Regions from separate parts of the Homo sapiens genome. Here region 2 is linked to region 1. Evidence: promoter capture Hi-C in 16 types of primary human blood cells and fetal thymus (Javierre and others, 2016). All regions are on one chromosome and are shown on one strand. The core of a region is centred on a gene start or on the middle of the fragment in contact, and the rest is flanking DNA. Distances in the headings are between cores, read along the strand shown. Region 1 holds the start of CRYAA (crystallin alpha A). Region 2 overlaps HSF2BP (heat shock transcription factor 2 binding protein).

Region 1 (4,964 bases), core at 630-3,129:
CATCACTCTCCCAGCGTTTCCTATCTGCACCTTAATTTGGCACCCCAGGGAATCGCTCCTCTGGAATTGTAACCTTGCAGGGCAAAAGCTATCATTTCAAGATTTTTTGGGATCCTGTGTCCCCGGACAGTGCTGTAAATGTAGGAGGAAGGGTGCTGCTCATGGGTGCTGCTCATGATGGAGGTGCCCCGTGGAGCACGCCTCGGAGCCCCCCCTTTCATCCCTGATCCCATCTGGGATGTGTCAGGTCTGATCCGCATACACTGGGGCATCTGACATTTCATGGCCTTCTGAGCCCATGGGCTGGAGATGAATTTGCAAAGCCCGGGAGTGTCCTGGGTGTGTGTTCACTCCACACGCACGAATCTGTTAGAGGCTGAGTAGGAACTAGGAGGCCAAAGAGAACCAGGCAACTTCCCACAGCCTGGACCGTACACTAGAAAAGCTAGCCTGGGAGAGGGGGCATGGCCTCTTCCCAGGCTGGCAGGGGGGATGTGGGGGAGGACCATGCTCCCCAGGGCCAGTTTACCAAAATATCAAAATACCAAAATATCAAAAGACTTAAAACTAGGAGTGAGCCAGGTGCAGTGGCTCACGCCTGTAATCCTACACTTTGAGAGGCCAAGGCAGGTGGGTCACCTGAGGTCAAGAGTTTGAGACCAGCCTGGCCAACACGGTGAAACCCTGTCTCTACTAAAAATACAAAAATAATAATAATAATAATAATAATAATAATTAGCCAGGTGTGGTGGCAGGCACCTGCAGTCTCAGCTACTCAGGAGGCTGAGGTGGGAGAATTGTTTGAACCTGGGAGGCAGAGGTTGCAGTGAGCTGAGATCGCGCCACTATATGATCTGGGCGCCACTCTGGGTGACACAGCAAGACTCCATCTCAAAAACAAACAAACAAAACCGGGAGTGCCTGGACACTTAGTGAGAACTGGACAGGGGCCATGGGTCGAGGAGCAAAATAATCACCAGGACTTGTGGATAACAGGATCATGTGGGTGGTGGGTCCGCATGGGTGACAGGGACGTGGGGACATGTCGCCACCCTGACAGGAGCAGCCCAACTCAACAGCCACGGCAGGTCATGCCACGGAGGCTCGAGGCGTTACGTGGGGATGTTACATCAAGGCATTACATCATTACGAGATGTAACGCTCGAGGCGTTACATCGAGGGGACGATGGCCATGGGGCTGGGCGTCCAGGGTGGGCCGCAGAGGGAAGCTCACCACGTGGTGCTCTCATCTGCCCACAGCCCAGCCCGTCTTCCTGTTGGAGGCATGTGACCCCTGGAGGACAAGCATGAAACGCCATAGGGCTCCCCCAGGTGCTGGAATTATGGCACCTTGCAGCTTCTTCTCCACGAGTTTTAACAAGCATGCGTACTTTTGTAAGTGGTGAGTGTAACGGAGGTTCACAGATGCACTCCGCTTTGGAAACCAGTGCACTCTTGCCCAGGCCCGGTGAGACTCTGAGGACGATGTGTCTAACCTCTGTGTCTAACGGGGGTGTGTGCTCTCCCTCCTCTGGCGACCATGAGGACCACCCCGGCAGGACAAGGTGTGCAGAGAACTAGCATGGTCCCTGGCACGTAGCCCCTGCCCAGTGACTGGCAGATGAGAAGCTCCATTGTCGCCCCAGGCGAGTATGGGGCACAGGCGCCTCCTTGGGTTGTCTGCCCTCCCGGGAGCCCCAGGGTGCCCAGGCGGGCCTCAGCTGAGTCCAGGCCTCGGGGACAGTCCGTGCAGCCCCTCCTGGGGCTGGGGGCGGGCACTTGTCCCAGCCACGTTTCTGCTGACTGAGCAGCCTTCTTCATGAGCTCACGCCTTTCCAGAGAAATCCCTTAATGCCTCCATTCTGCTGGTGGCATATATAGGGAGGGCTCGGCCTTGGCTCCACACTGCGCTGCCCAGAGGCCCCGCTGACTCCTGCCAGCCTCCAGGTCCCCGTGGTACCAAAGCTGAACATGGACGTGACCATCCAGCACCCCTGGTTCAAGCGCACCCTGGGGCCCTTCTACCCCAGCCGGCTGTTCGACCAGTTTTTCGGCGAGGGCCTTTTTGAGTATGACCTGCTGCCCTTCCTGTCGTCCACCATCAGCCCCTACTACCGCCAGTCCCTCTTCCGCACCGTGCTGGACTCCGGCATCTCTGAGGTAAGACGTGGCCCGTGGTGCTGGCCTCTCCTCGCTGCTCAGAGGGTGGTGGCCTCGGTGGGTGGAGAGCGATGGACTCTGGTCTTGCTCCGTCAGGCAGGTGGCCTCGTCCCACTTCATCCCCTTGCAGAGGCTGGGCGAGAGCCTGTGTCCCCACTGCAGCCACGTGGCAGAGCTTCCCCTGGCACTGGGGAGAGGGTGGACAAGGGAGCAGCCTGAATCCACCTTTGCTTTCCTCCATCAGCTCATGACCCATGTGTGCTTTGTAAGGCACCAGCCACATACTGGAAACCCCAAGAGCAGCCCATCCAGGCATGCGTGGTGGCGAATGCCAGCTCCCGGGTTCCTCTGGTCTCCTGAGTCCCGGAGACCTGGGAGCAGGTGGGGGTCATAGTCCTGAAAGCCAGAGAGCAGGGCGTTCCTAGCACCTCCTCCAATGAGCTCGGCCTGCCCACGGCTAGCAAAGCTCTTGGCAAGTTTACTTAGGTGCCCTGCCAAGGCTAAAAGGACAGGCAATGGACGCCCCCCCCCCCACCCAACCACAGGCCTCCTCTCTGAGCCACGGGTGAGCGGTGCAGGTTCTGCTGTTCTGGAGGGCCTGAGTCCCACCCAGCACCTCATAAACAGGGTCCTCCCCAGGGCTGCTGCAGTAGGCATCAACGCCAGGGTGCAAAATGCCTCAGGGAGCCAAGGCTGAGCCAGGGGAGTGAGAAGGAGCATGTGGAAGTGCGTTTTGGAGAGGCAGCTGCGCAGGCTGTCAGCAGGCTCCGGCCGCTTCTATAGACAGCATGACACCAAGGGCAGTGACCTCATTCCACAGGCTGAGTCCAGCCAGCCAGCCAAGCATCACCAGCCAGACGATTGACCCTAACGGACCAACCAACCCGTAACGACCCCTCCTACCATAACCAGTAGCCAGCCAGCCCATAACCAGCCAACTTATCTATAACCAGCCACCTGACCATAGCCAAACAACCAGCCGGCCCACCAGTAGCATTCAGCCCCTCAGCTGGCCCTGAGGGTTTGGAGACAGGTCGAGGGTCATGCCTGTCTGTCCAGGAGACAGTCACAGGCCCCCGAAAGCTCTGCCCCACTTGGTGTGTGGGAGAAGAGGCCGGCAGGTGACCGAAGCATCTCTGTTCTGATAACCGGGACCCGCCCTGTCTCTGCCAACCCCAGCAGGGACGGCACCCTCTGGGCAGCTCCACATGGCACGTTTGGATTTCAGGTTCGATCCGACCGGGACAAGTTCGTCATCTTCCTCGATGTGAAGCACTTCTCCCCGGAGGACCTCACCGTGAAGGTGCAGGACGACTTTGTGGAGATCCACGGAAAGCACAACGAGCGCCAGGTGAGCCCAGGCACTGAGAGGTGGGAGAGGGGGGCGAGTTGGGCGCGAGGACAAGGGGGTCACGGCGGGCACGACCGGGCCTGCACACCTGCACCATGCCTTCAACCCTGGGAGAGGGACGCTCTCCAGGGGACCCCGAATCAGGCCTGGCTTTTCCCCAAGGGAGGGGCCGTGCCCACCTGAGCACAGCCAGCCCCTCCCGGTGACAGAGGTCACCATTCCCGAGCTAATGTGGCTCAGGGATCCAGGTTAGGGTCCCTTCCCGGGCTGCACCCAGCCGTCGCCAGCTCCATCCCTGTCACCTGGATGCCAGGGTGGTCTTAGAAAGAACCCCAGGAAGTGGGAGTGCCCCGGGTGGCCGCCTCCTAGCCAGTGTACATCTTCACATGAACCCTACCTGAGGAAGCCAGTCCCCGACGGCATAGCTGCATCCGCTTGGAATGCTTTACAGGCATTGACACCTTCGCCTCACAGCAGCACTTTGGAACCAGTGTCCTCATTATTCCAGGGCACGGCTGGGGAACAAGGGGGTCCTCAGCCTGCTGGGTCCCACAGCTAGTACCGGGCAGGTGGACGGGAGCTTCTCCCCACAGTCACCCTGATGCCCCGCTCTTGCTCGGCTGGAGGCCTCGGATCTCCGTGGTGTTGAGGGAGCCGGGGCACTGGAGCCCTGGTGACCTGCATCTCCTGGCGGAGCCGGGAAGAGCTCATGGACTGTCACAGATGGACAGTGCCCCGCGGGGGCTGGAGAGCAGAGTGGGGCTGGAAGGTGGAACTCTTAGCCAAAGTCTTGGTTTCTTTTGGCCAGGGTCCTCTTTCAATGGCTGGAGAAGGTGGTGCTGGGGGGTGAACGCTGACCTCCTCATGTGCTGCCCCTCCCTCGCCTGGGCCCGGTAAAGCCCCCACGTAGCCCCAGCCAGCCTGGAACATGCTTCCTGAGCTCCCAGCTCTTGGTCTTTGCACCCAGTGGAGGAGGAGGTCAGCCCAGGGAGCTGAGTCTGCGGTTTAGGGCGTCCAGGGGACGTGGAAGCATGTGGGTCGTCTGGCCACATTAGGTAGGGCTGCAGAGACCTGGGCTAGAGCAGTCCTGCGGGGTCTGGAAGGGGAAGACTGGCTGAGGTGCGGGGCCTGGTCTGGAATGATCCTGCGATTTTGGAGTGAAGCCATGGAGCGGGAAGAGACAACCCCCCGCGGGGAATAGCCCGGCAAGTGGCCACGAGGCCAGGCTGAGGTCCAGAGAAGCAGGGGCATGAATCCATAAATCCCAGGGGGCCTGGCCATGGGATGTGCTGGCTGCACCCGGCCCCTGTGAGAGCCCCCGCAGGCTGGCCCCCTTCTGCAGTCAGTGGGGCTGGGGCAGCTTCTCTGGCATGGGGCGAGGCAGCCGCCTGCACAGTGGCCCCCCTGACTGTGCGCCCCCACCCTCTCCAGGACGACCACGGCTACATTTCCC
Region 2 (4,964 bases), core at 2,465-4,964, 460 kb after region 1:
TTTGTTTCAGAAGGAAAAGGATCCATTTGAGAGCTAACCCATGGTCTCTATTACCTATCCCCACAGGATAGTCTTGGTATTTGAGACTCATAAGCCCCCAAGCCTCTGCAAATCAGCACTTTAATAAAATATTCTTCCCAGTCAAATTCATTAACATGCAAATATAAGTGCCCACTATCCAACTCTTCATAAGAGTTCCTATGTAAACCACCACAAACACAGGAAAACAGCCGCGCTGAGCTTGAATGCTGGGCAACAGGGCGGCTTCACTCACAGCCCACTGCCTCACCAGCATGTCAGCCAGCAATTCAGGCAGCTCAGATTCACAACCAGCAACATGACAAGTCACATAGGTCATACGCCTTTGGGGTCACTTGCAAAGAGAAGAAAACGCAAATTATTTAATTTGCAAATGCCTTCTGTTAAAAGACAACCTTCAAACAATGTTTTTAAAGGGAGGGCAATGCAAGCCTGCTACAACTGTAGGTGCCATGATGAACGTATAGAATGCTGCCCTGCACTGGAGTAAGGAATAGCCAGAAAACATCACAGTCTCAGCATCCACCCCGCAAGAACTATCATCAAGTTTTAAAGGATTAAGAAACAAATGTCTACACAGACCTACCCCATTAGGATTTCAATAAAAGAATAACACCAAAAGAAAAATAAAATTTTCTCTCACTTTAACAGCAGAGAATTTTCCTAAGAACAGCATGGGAAAATAATAAAGCAAATAAAGCAGAGATTAAAGATCAATGTAAAAAAAAAAGTCTGAAATTAAATAATTCAAACTTAAAGCTGTTGGGACTTTAAATTATCCCAACCATTGTGAGGAATGTAGATATGCGGCTGCAAATTCTGCATTTTTCTTTCCTGTAAATAATTAAGACCAAACTGCTGAAGATAAGACTTCCTCAGATAACCCTCCTTGGAATGTAGCAATCTATAAACAGTCAAATCACTGTGGCACACACACTGGTCTTGTATGGAAAATGTTCTAATCCTGCTGGAACTTCTCTGTCTCTGCCTATATCAGTGATATCTTCTTCACTTTGGAACCCTGACCCCACTGGTTTGAAGTTGGTGTTTCTGAGTGGCCACCGTCAAGCTCTGTGCACAAATAAACTCTGTACTTAGTCATATTTTCTGAATCTCGTTAAGGCTGATAAGTCACAGCAATGTATTGAACCATTTCACTGACTTCAGAACAAAGAGCCTCAATACTCACTAGTACATTCCACCTCTTTCTATACCAAGAAATTTTTTTTTTTTTTTTAAGAGACGGAGTCTTGCTCTGTCACCCAGGGTGGAGTGTAGTGGCACGATCTCAGCTCACTACAACCTCCACCTCCCAGGTTCAAGCAATTCTCCTGCCTCAGCCTACTGAGTAGCTGGGATTACAGGTGTGCGCCACCACGCCTGGCTAATTTTTTTGTATTTTAATAAAGACAGGTTTCCCCATGTTGGCCAGGCTGGTCTCGAATTCTTCCTGACTTCAAATGATCCACCCGCCTCAAGCCTCCCAAAATGCTGGGATTACAGGCGTAAGCCACCATGCCTTGCTTCTATACTGAGAAATTATTTAGTTCCTGGACTTTATCCCTTATGATAGTTCTGAGACGGAATTTTATCATAACTCTCAGGGAAAGGTTTACTTTATTATCTTTTAGGAGAATTTTACTGAAGAGGCAATTTAGGTTTTTGGAATTATATAATTATTATACTAAAACAACAGCAAAGAGCTCAGCTTAAGCTTAGCTTAAGGCTTTTACTTTAGCTAGCCAGACAGTAAAATTATGATTCTGAATAAAAGCAGCTAAACTTACTTGTTTTTTTCTGTCAAGGTACATAACTACACAGAACATGCAAACTCATCTGTTTCCTTCAGATCATTCATTCTTAATAACTGATACTTATCAGAATCACCTGGGGTGATTTTCCAAAATAAACATACCCGGTACCTATCCCAGAACTATGGAATCAGATTATCCAGGGTGCTCCCCAGCATTAATATCTGAAAACACTCCTGAGAGATGTTTACACACTCTCAACCCTGACTGTAAACACCAGTCTCTGTAACAGTCACTACAGCTGAAAAGAATTACAGGCACATTTCGTTTTATTGCATTCACTTTATTGTGCTTTGCAGATACTGTTTTTTTACAAATTGAAGGAATGTGGCAACCCTACATTGAGCAAGTCTGTTGGTGCCATTTTTCCAACAGTGTGTGCTTAATTCATGTCTCTGTGTCACATTTTGGTAATTCTTGCAATAGTTGAAACTTTTTCATTATTATTACATCTGTTATGGTCATCTGTGATCAATGATCTTTGATGTTACCACTGTAATTGTTTTAGGGCACCATGAGCCACACCCATGTAAGACAGCAAATTTAATCAATACATGCTACTTATCTTCTGATTTTTCCAATGACTGGCCATTCCCGTTTCTCTCCCTCTCCTAGGAACTTGCTATTCCCTGAGACACAACAATACTGAAATTCGGACAGTTAATAACCCTACAATGACCTCTAAATGTTCAAGCAAAAGGAAAAGATACATATCTGAAAGCAAAAGCTAGAAATGATTAAGCTTAGTGAAGGCATGGCCAAAGCTGAGACCTGCTGAAAGTTAGACCTCTTGTGCCAAACAGCCAAGTTATGACTGCAAATGCAAAGTTCTCGATAGAAATTAAAAGCTCTATTCCAGTGAACACATGAATGATAAGAACGCAAAACAGCCTTATTGCTGATATGGAGAAAGCCCAAGTATTCTAGACAGAAGATCAAAAATCATCAAAAATCCCTTAAGCCAAAGCCTAATTCAGAGAAAAGCCCCAATGCTCTTCAATTCTGTGAAGGCTGACAGGGGTAAGGAAGCTGCAGAAGAAAAGCTGGAAGCTAGTACAGGTTGCTTCATGAGGTTTAAGGAAAGAAGTTGTCTCCATAACATAAAAACAACGTGCAGCAGCAAGTGCTGATGGAGAAGCTGCAGCAAGTTATCCAGAAGATCTAGCTAAGATCACTGCCGAGGGTGGTTACACTAAACAAGAGATTTTCAATGTAGACAAAGTCGCTTTCTATTGGAAGAAGACGCCATCTAGGACTTTCACCGCTAGAGAAAAGTCAATGCCTGGCTTCAAAGCATCAAAAGACAGGCTGACTCTCTTGTTAGGGGCCAATGGTGCGGGTGACTTTAATTGAAGCCAATGCTCATTTAACCATTCTGAAAATCCTAGAGCCCTTAAGAATTATGCTAAATCTACTCTTGCCTATGCTCTAGAAATAGAAAAACAAAGCCTGGATGACAGCACACCTGTTTCCAGCATGGTTTACTGAATATTTTCAGCCCACTGTTGAGACCTACTGCTCAGAAAAAAAGATTTCTTTCAAAACACTACTGTTCATTGACAATGCACCTGGTCAATCAAGAGCCATGATGGAGAGGTACAAGGAAAGTAATGTTGACTCCATGCCTGCTAATACAATACCTATTCTTCAGCTCATATATCAAAAAGAAATTTCAACTTTCAAGTCCTATTTTTTTTAAGAACTACATTTCATAACGCTACAGCTGCCATAGACAGTGATTCCTCTGATGGATCTGGGTGAAGTAAACTGAAAACCTTCTAAAAAGGATTCACCATTCTAGATGCCATTAAGAATATTCATGATTCAGCCAAGCGCAGTGGCTCATGCCTATAATCCCAGCACTTTGGGAGGCTGAGGTGGGCAGATCACCTGAGGTCAGGAGTTCAAGACCAGCCTGGCCAACATGGAGAAACCCCATCTCTACTAAAAATACAAAATTAGCTGGGCATGGTGGCGCATGCCTGTAATCCCAGCTACTTGGGAGGCTGAGGCAGGAGAATCACTTAAATACAGGATGTGGAGGCTGCAGTGAGCCGAGATCACGCCGTTGCACTCCAGCCTGGGCAACAAGAGAATATTCATGATTCATGGGAGGAGGTCAAAATAACAACATTAACAGGAGTTCGGAAGAAGTTGATTTCAATCCTCATGGATGACTTTGAAGGGTTCATGACTTCAGTGGAGTAAGTAACTACAGACGTGGTGGCAGAAAAAAAGGATAAGTTGCTTCTTATGGAAGAACAAAGAAAGTGGTTTCTTGAGATGGAATCTACTCTTGGTGAAGATGCTAAGACATTGTTGAAATAAGAACAAGAGATTCAGAATATTACATAAACTTAGTTGACAAAGCAGCAGTAAGGTTTGAGAGGGCTGACTCCAATTTTGAAAGATGTTCTACTGTGGAAAAAATGCTATCAAACAGCATCACATGCTACTGAGAAATCTTACATGAAAGGAAGAATTAATCAATGTGGCAAACTTCATTGTTCCTTATTTTAAGAAATTGGCACAGCCACCCCAACCTTCAGTAACTACCACCCTGATCAGTTAGCAGTCATCAATATCACGGCAAGACCCTCTACCAGCAAAAAATTGTAACTTGCTGAAGGCTCAGATGATCATTAGCATTTTTAGCAATAATGAATTTTCTAATTAAAGTTTGTACATTTTTTAGACATAATGCTATTGTACATACAACAGACTACAGTATAGTGTAAACATAATTTGTATATGCACTGGGAAACCAAAAACATTCATGTGACTCATGTATTATTGCAGTATTTGCTTTACTGCAGTGGTCTGGAAGCAAACAGGCAACATCTCTCAGGTGCGCCTGCACTTACTCGTGACAATTCCAGCCAGAGCGAAAACAAACTGACTTTCATCCGAATCCAGCTCCTGGACATCACCGTCTAACGACTTCACAAAACTCTCCATTGTTTGACCAGTGATGCTGAAAAACTTCAAAGCTTTATCCTGAAAGTTTGAAAATCAGAGTGTCATATCTTTTTACAGACACTAGTGTGAAAACATTTTAAAAGTGCAGGATACAGAAGATTCTAGTTTTAATTGTAGAATATTGTAAAATCTATT

What was found. The method cuts DNA at HindIII sites, captures the fragments that hold promoters and counts their contacts. A CHiCAGO score of 5 or more calls a contact.
Region 2: a fragment that was not itself captured here is called in contact with the fragment with the promoter of CRYAA in region 1 in 1 of 17 cell types (total CD4 T cells); the score reaches 5.7 in total CD4 T cells.

Annotation. Positions count from the first base shown.
Region 1 is chr21:43,167,129-43,172,092 of GRCh38, forward strand. It overlaps CRYAA (crystallin alpha A), which reads left to right and starts at 1,880. Exons shown (of 3, transcript NM_000394.4): 1 at 1,880-2,160; 2 at 3,389-3,511; 3 at 4,943-4,964. The coding sequence starts at 1,972. LOC107987300 (a long non-coding RNA gene) reads right to left here and starts at 4,454. Exons shown (of 3, transcript XR_007067885.1): 1 at 3,909-4,454. RefSeq lists an enhancer at 1-228. The HindIII fragment of the contact is 23,635 bases long and covers 1-4,964 here.
Region 2 is chr21:43,625,608-43,630,571 of GRCh38, forward strand. HSF2BP (heat shock transcription factor 2 binding protein) reads right to left here. Exons shown (of 9, transcript NM_007031.2): 6 at 4,715-4,847. Among named protein-coding and RNA genes, the nearest start is that of MIR6070, 18 kb to the left of the region's middle. The HindIII fragment of the contact is 2,248 bases long and covers 2,591-4,838 here.